2 separate regions of the Homo sapiens genome follow, and region 2 is linked to region 1. Evidence: promoter capture Hi-C in 16 types of primary human blood cells and fetal thymus (Javierre and others, 2016). All regions are on one chromosome and are shown on one strand. The core of a region is centred on a gene start or on the middle of the fragment in contact, and the rest is flanking DNA. Distances in the headings are between cores, read along the strand shown. Region 1 holds the start of SBK1 (SH3 domain binding kinase 1). Region 2 overlaps KATNIP (katanin interacting protein).

The links. Contacts are between HindIII fragments. The CHiCAGO score rates a contact against its expected background, and 5 or more counts as called.
Region 2: a fragment that was not itself captured here is called in contact with the fragment with the promoter of SBK1 in region 1 in 1 of 17 cell types (M1 macrophages); the score reaches 5.7 in M1 macrophages.

The regions. Positions count from the first base shown.
Region 1 is chr16:28,290,642-28,294,174 of GRCh38, forward strand. SBK1 (SH3 domain binding kinase 1) reads left to right here and starts at 1,884. Exons shown (of 4, transcript NM_001024401.3): 1 at 1,884-2,659. It overlaps LOC124903670 (a long non-coding RNA gene), which reads right to left and starts at 1,424. Exons shown (of 2, transcript XR_007065033.1): 1 at 1,126-1,424. RefSeq lists silencers at 1,376-1,547, 1,755-1,984. The HindIII fragment of the contact is 5,383 bases long and covers 905-3,533 here.
Region 2 is chr16:27,636,580-27,640,126 of GRCh38, forward strand. All of the region lies in intron 5 of KATNIP (katanin interacting protein), which reads left to right. Among named protein-coding and RNA genes, the nearest start is that of KATNIP, 88 kb to the left of the region's middle. RefSeq lists an enhancer at 241-741. The HindIII fragment of the contact is 4,214 bases long and covers 1-3,458 here.

The DNA of each region.
Region 1 (3,533 bases), core at 634-3,133:
AGGAAGGTAGGAAGGCAGGAAGGAAGGAAAGAAGAAAGGAAGGAAGGAAGGGCGGGGAGAGAAAAAGAAAGAAAGGAGAAGAGAAGAGAAGAAAAGAAAAGAGAAAAAAGACAATCTAGACAGAGGCAGGAGGCCGACAAGTTAAGAACTGAAACAATATTCTCAATGGTAGAGGTTGCCAACCTATGGTCTGGGGGCCAGATTTGTCTGCAAAGTGTGTTTCATTTGGCCCATTCAATATTTCCGAATTTTGGGAATTCGTTTCAAACATTTAAAAGTTGGAAGATTTCTGGATGTCCTGCTTCTCTTTGAATATCATCCAGCCACGCACAGCCCACGATGTCTCCAGTTCCCCTCTTCTCCACCCTCTCTATCACTTTACATGCGACCCCAGTCGCTCATGTCTGCGCCTGTAGGTACTTGCGTTTGCAATCCCTGGCTCCTAAAGCTCTGGAAACAGTCGGGAGTGGCTGGGAGGATTACGCTGGGTTGAGAAAACAGCCTGATCAAAAACTTAGAAGAAATAGGGGCAGTCATAAAAAATGATGAGTTCATGTCCTTTGTAGGGACATGGATGAAGCTGGAAACCATCATTCTCAGCAAACTATCGCAAGGACAAAAAACCAAACACCGCATGTTCTCACTCATAGGTGGGAATTGAACAAAGAGAACACATGGACACAGGAAGGGGAACATCACACACCAGGGACTGTTGTGGGGTGGGGGGAAGGGGGAGGGATAGCATTAGGAGATATACCTAATGCTAAATGACGAGTTAATGGGTGCAGCACACCAACATGGCACACGTATACATACGTAACAAACCTGCATGTTGTGCATATGTACCCTAAAACTTAAAGTATAATAATAATTAAAAAAAAGAATGAAAAAGAAATGCTTTTGAAGCTTGAAGCTAAAAAAACAAAAAAAAAAGAAAGAAATAGGGAAGGCGTCCTATTGGGGCTTTCTCACTAGGGAAAGAGTGAGCTGCAGGGAGGAGAAAGAACAGGGCCTGGAAGGACGAGCTGTCCCTATCTCATCTCTGTCCCCATCCACCCACTTCATCCAGGCCACCAATTTCCGGTTATCAAACAGACAATGCAACATCCCTTACACCTGCTGTACCTCTGCCTAGAATCTCCTTTCTTCCCTTCTATCCGGCGAGCAGTTCCTCCCAGCTGCACTCCTGGACTAGTCACTGCCTATTTGCAGCAGGGATCGCAAAGGCGACCTCAGTTGGATAGGGCAACCACCCAGGCCCAAGTTTATGACCTCTTCCCCAAGAAGACTGTGAGTTCTCTGACGTCTCGCTGGAAATAGGATGCATGGATGGATGGATGGATGGATGGACGGACGGATGGATGGATGGATGGAAGCGCAGGCAGGCAGGCGGACGCATGGATGAATGAAATGCATATCCGAATGCAGAACCTGGATTTGTTTTCCCTCCTTCAAACACACACAGGCTCCGCCCCACTAGCACAGACCGGGACAGTCTGGGGCAGTCTCGTCCCGCAGGGCCCAGAAAGCTGGACCAGGTGACCCTCTCAGACTCCCCCGAGTCCTCTGTAACCTCGTTCTCGCCCCCTCGTGGGCTCTGACCTAGAAAAGGAGTGGGGTGGGTGGGGGGTGGGGGGTGGGAGCCAGCTCGGGAGCCACCGGCGCTAGGACCCAGCGCGGCCGGAAGGGGGTGGGGGCGCCGCGCGGGGAGAATCTGCGCTCCGCGGCGCGCGGCGGGAGGGCGGGCGCGCGGCGGGTGAGCGCGCTTGCGCGAGGGCGCGCGCCGAGCGGGACGGACAAAGGGGCGGGCGGCGGCGCGCGAGCCGGAGGGCGGAGCCGCGGGCCGGGCGGGCAGGTGCGCGCTGGCTGGAGGGCGGAGCCGCGATGCCGCGATGGAGCGCAGCCCGGGCGGGCGCCGGGGCCGGGGCCCGAGCGCCAGGCGGAGCGCGAGCTGGAGCCGCAGCCGGAGCCCGGGCCAGGCCGGGGGCCGGGAGCGCAGGGCCGGGCTGCTCGTAGCGGCGGCGACCGAGCCCCCCAGCGGCTGAGGGGCTTCCAGCGCCCGCCGGTGGCCGGGACCCACTAAAGCCCCCGCAGCCGAGGAGTGCGGGGAGCCCCCTTCCACATCCAGGATCCGGCGAGCCTCGGGGAAGAGGGGGGGCCCTCCCGGATCCGACACCGAGCGACTCCCCTGCGGGGAAAGCGGAGACTTCCTCGGTATTTAGAAGACAGCAAGCCCCCTACGGCACCGCAAGGACTCCCCCTCCTCAGTCTGGGCCCCCGCCCCAAGACCTAGAACGCAGTGCCCCCAGGCCGGGATTGCGAGAACCCCCTCCCAAGATCCGGTCATTACAACTCCACACCTCAAGACAAGAAGACCCAGCTCAGAACGCCCCTAGATCAGGGGATCCCAATTCCCCCCAACTCCGGTACATAGAAATCCCAAATCTAGGCAGCCGGGGACAGCAAGAGACACTCTCACCAGCAAGAAGCCTCGGGGATCCCCCCCCTAAAGCTCCAGGACTTGGGCGACTGAGCCCCTGGCGGCACCGCTTGCACCCCGGTCCATGGTCGTGGCGCCCTGAGCCCCCGGGGCCGGGCAGACGAAGACCGCGACGGCGCCCAGGCCCCCTGCCGCGGCGTCCCCGCGGCCCCAGCCCAGGTAAGCCGGGCCCAGGTGAGGGGCGGCAGGTGAGTGGCCACCGAGGTCCCCATAGCCCTGCAGGTGGGGAAGGAAGTATCGGGTTGCGCGCTCCCCCTTCCCCAGCGTCGCCATGGAGCCGAGGCTGAAGGACGTCTCTTTGTGTCTCGCTTGGAGGAGCCGCCCCCTCCTCCTCTCCCTTCCCCCACCCCACTCCCTAGCCTTGAGGCTCGGGCGCAGCTCCCCGGCCCCACGGAGGAGTGGTGGTGGAGCCCGTTGTGCCATGGAGAGGGGGGAAGAGGGCGGAGAGTCCCCCCCCAAAAGCTGCGAGCCTGGAGGTTGGCCCCCAGGTCCTTGGAGTGTGAATACCCCTCCCCCACGGCCAAGCTGAGCTTCTAGTGAAGTCCCCCCGAGAGGGGAAAATTTGGGGGTGCCCACAGGTGAGGGGGGCTGCCTTATGTGGCCCTGGGTGATGGCTGGGGCTTCGGGTGTGTGTCTTTGTCTGTGAGAGTGCGGGGAAGGGGTGTGTTTGAGCGGATGAATGGGAATCGCATCTTCCCTGTGACTCTGCTGCCCGACCCAGGCCACACTGGCGGTCTTTACCTAAACCATACTTTGTACTCCCTGTGGGACAGGGAGGGAGTAAGTACCCCCCAAAGTGAGGCGCTAGTTTCTGGGGAGGAGAGGTAGCCTAGATGAAGAAGCTATTTCAGGTCAGGGCACCGTTCTGTTCCCATTTGTCCCAGGGACAGCAACCCAAGTCTTTCCCTTCCCCTCCTAACCTGGAGAACACCCAGGTTAAACCAAGGGTTGGCTCAATGTGTCCCAGACAACCAAGGGCCAATTCCAGGGTCTCACTGTGGCTTTCCAGGTGGTACACACGGCCGTACCCCAG
Region 2 (3,547 bases), core at 102-2,601, 650 kb before region 1:
CTGTGTGCCCTGGAGCTCTCTGTGTAACCTCTCTGAGCTGTGTGTCTTGGAGCTGGCCATGTGACCTCTCTGAGCTGTGTGCCCCAGAGCTGGCTGAGTAACCTCTCTGAGCTGTGTGTCTCGGAGCTGGCTGTGTAGCCTCTCTGAGCTGTGCACCCCAGACCTGGCCATGTAACCTCTGTGAGCTGTGTGCTCTGGAGCTGGCCGTGTAACCACTCTGAGCTTTGGTTTCATCATCAATGAAACCTCCCAGGGCTGCTGGAGGGGAGCATGTGCAGCGTGCATTACAGGTGGTCTCAGCAGGGGCTGCCTGCTGCTTCAGGTGGGAACAGGTGACAGACAAGTCCAGAGGAATGGCTAAGAGCATAGACCCTGGAACCTTCCAGCAGCCCCAGTGCAAAGCCTTGGCTCCGCCTCCTGCCAGCTGCACAGTGGCTAAGACGCTTAACCCCTTGGTGCCTGCGCTCTCATTTGTCATGTGAGGTTGGTAATGGTAATTAATGAGGGCAATTAATGAGGATCAGTGGGGTCTGTGTTTGGAGAGAAGCTGAAGCAGTGCCTGGCACAGGAGAAATAGTGAATGGTGCTGCCTGTTGTTGTTTTAATCACAGAGGGGCAGATGGGGAGGGCAGCTCAGCCTGGAGGCCTCAGGGCTCTTCACTCTAGTATGTTCCTTTGCTCACTCATACTTTACTTCTTTCATTCCGTGCTCATGTATTGAGCACATACTCAGTTTTGGCACTTACAGATGCCGGGTTCCAAGCAATAAGTGAGGCCAGCCCTGCTCTCCTGGAGCTCATGTTGATGGGGAGCGGGTGGGGAGGTTGGGAAGGCAAAGGACCAAAGGCAAGCAAGGGAGTCGGAAGACAGTGCTACGAAGGAAGGACAGAGGACAGCAGCCTGAAAGAGAAGCTGTCGGGGGAGCGCTCCTTCAGCGAAGGTGGGCAGCACAGCCTCCCAAGGGGCCGCATCGCAGCCAGGGCCTGAGAGTTACCTGGAGCCAGCCCCGGAAAGATCTGTGGCTGGGGGAGGCTTTCAGGTGAGGGGACAGTGAGAGCAGCGGGCACTGGGCACAGGCTGAGAGGAGGCAGGGCGATCAGGACAGGGTGGCAGAAAGGGTGGGGATGAGGGTGTCAGGGTTGCAAGTAGGAAGAACCGGCCATGCAGGGCCTAGAAGACCACAGGAGGAAGTTTGGATTTCAATCTAAATGTGAGAATTTCCAAGAGGGTTGAAACAGTAGAGCGCCACGTTTGGGTTCATATTTTGGGTTCATGTGTGCAGAAAGGACCGCCCATGGGAGCAAGGGGCTACAGGAGGACCAGGAAGCCTTTGAAGCAGGGCTACGTCTCTCTCCACCAACCTTCCCCAGCCCCCGTCCTTGCACTTCTGTTCCCTGTCCCTGAGCTGCCGCCAACTCGTAGCTTCAGTGTTCCCCTGATCCATCGTGCCTTCTCCACACACGGTTTTACACTCCCTCCATATTTGTTAGTTGAAAGTTTCCAAGACAGAGACAGTCTGAATCTCTCAGCTCATCCCTTTCTCAGGGCATGGCCTGGGCTGCTGCTGCTTAGCCTGGATGAGGCACCCCCTCCTACCTCCATCGGCTATGACTAGAGCCCCTCAGAGACCAGTTCATTTGGTGCAAACCCTGCCTGCCCTGGCCACATGAGCAGGAACCATGAGTCCTATAGCTTCTTGTCAAGAAGGCTGGAGGTAGCAGAGTGAATAGACTGGGGGTGCCAGCTATACCATTATTACCGTCATGAGGAAGACAGGCTGGATTGGTTTGCTCTGGCTCCAAGAAGTGGAGTTAAGTCCAAAGTTTCTCCATGGTAGACAGTCCATGGAGACAGAGTCTTGGGTCCATGGGATGGAGAGGAAGACAATCTTTCTATCCTAACCCTTTTGGATGGGCTCCTGCCATGCTTAGGGGCAGCCAAGGTAGGCAGAGTGGTCAAGGCAGCCAAGTCCCCAGTGGCCAGTGGCCAGTTCTCAAAAGCTGCTCCACCAAGAGAGGGACCACAGTCCTCTCCCGGTCTTGGGGTTTCACTTGTAGGGCCATGCCAACCAGGAGGTATCAGTGGGGCCACACGGTCGCCTTGTGTATTCACATTGGTCAGCAGGGGACACCGTGGTGGGATGCAGTGGTCCCAGTGCACAGTGAGCACCTGCAGTCCCAGCCTTATTCACAGTCCACACAGCCCCCTTGCCTCCCCATTCACCCTCTGTACTCTCCTCCTGGCTGTCTTGCTGGATTTTTTTTTTTTTTTTTTTTTGAGACAGGTTCTTGCTATGTAGCCCACACTGGTCTTGAACTCCCGGGCTCATGCGATCCACCCACCTTGGCCTCCTAAAGTGCTGGGATTAACAGACGTGAGCCACTGCGCCCAGCCCTGAAACTCTCTTGAATCACACACCCTGTTTCTACTGACCAAGCCCAATCCATTCACCGCCTCCAGGAGAACAGGTTTCTCTTCTTACGGTCTCACCCAACAATAAGAAAGCACATTTGGGTAGAGCTGCCCTGACAGGAGGGGCTGCGTCAGGTACACTGGCCTCCAGATCCCTTGACCAGAAGGTCACAGAGTCATCCCAACTCTGGCTCCTGGCCAAGAAGCCGATGACTTCCACCTGTAAAACCCTTCCCAAGCCCCTCAGATTCCTGGGGGTTTGGGGAGGATCATGGCGATGGCTGTGTTGGGCTCCCGAGCTGCCACCTTCCCTGTGGAATGGGCTGGTGGTGATGTATGGCCTCTTGTTCATACTGTCCTTTTCCCCCCACCACTTCTGGGCCTTAGATCTTTATGCTGCTATCTGTGGATTAAGATTTATGGCTTCCTCAGCCTTGTAATACTTGGGTGGACAGCGGCCTAATCAACAGAGCCGTCGTTTACCAAAATGCTGTCAGATTTGATGAACGTCATCGGCTCTTAGCATTAAATTGCTAGTGAAGGGATTGGCCTTCCAGCAATTTACTGTGGGGTGGGCGTTCCTTAAAGGTCTCTAAAGCAAGTTCATTGCAATTATTAAAGCAGAGGCTTTGCTCTCACTCAGCCACCATATCCTGTGTCCTGTTGTGGCCTGTGCAGCTTCAGCACCTTCAGAAAATCTCACAAGTAAAAATGGGAAGTGTTGGGGGCCCTGTCTCTTGTTATCTTCCTTCTGAGTTCTGAAACCCTTGCAGTGAGGACGACAAATGAAACAAGCCGTAAAGCATTGGCCTTTCCAGTGACCTTGCACAACACAGACTGTCAGAGTGGGGAGCACTGCTATTTCTAAGAGATCAGACAAATCAGGGATGAACACATCAAGTCAGCCGGACCTCCCAACCCTAGACCTACCTTTGTCAGTGTTTTAGAGCTCTCGTACCTCTAGAGGGAGCCATTTGCATACTGCACAACCCACACAACCATATGGGGCAGCCCCCAGCCTTGCTCTTTTTTTCTACTTGACAATAAGCTTTAATGCACACCTTTTAAAACAGTTTGCGAAGAGGGGTGGCAGATATGAACAAATAACTCTAGGCATGAACTGGGCTGAGTGTGG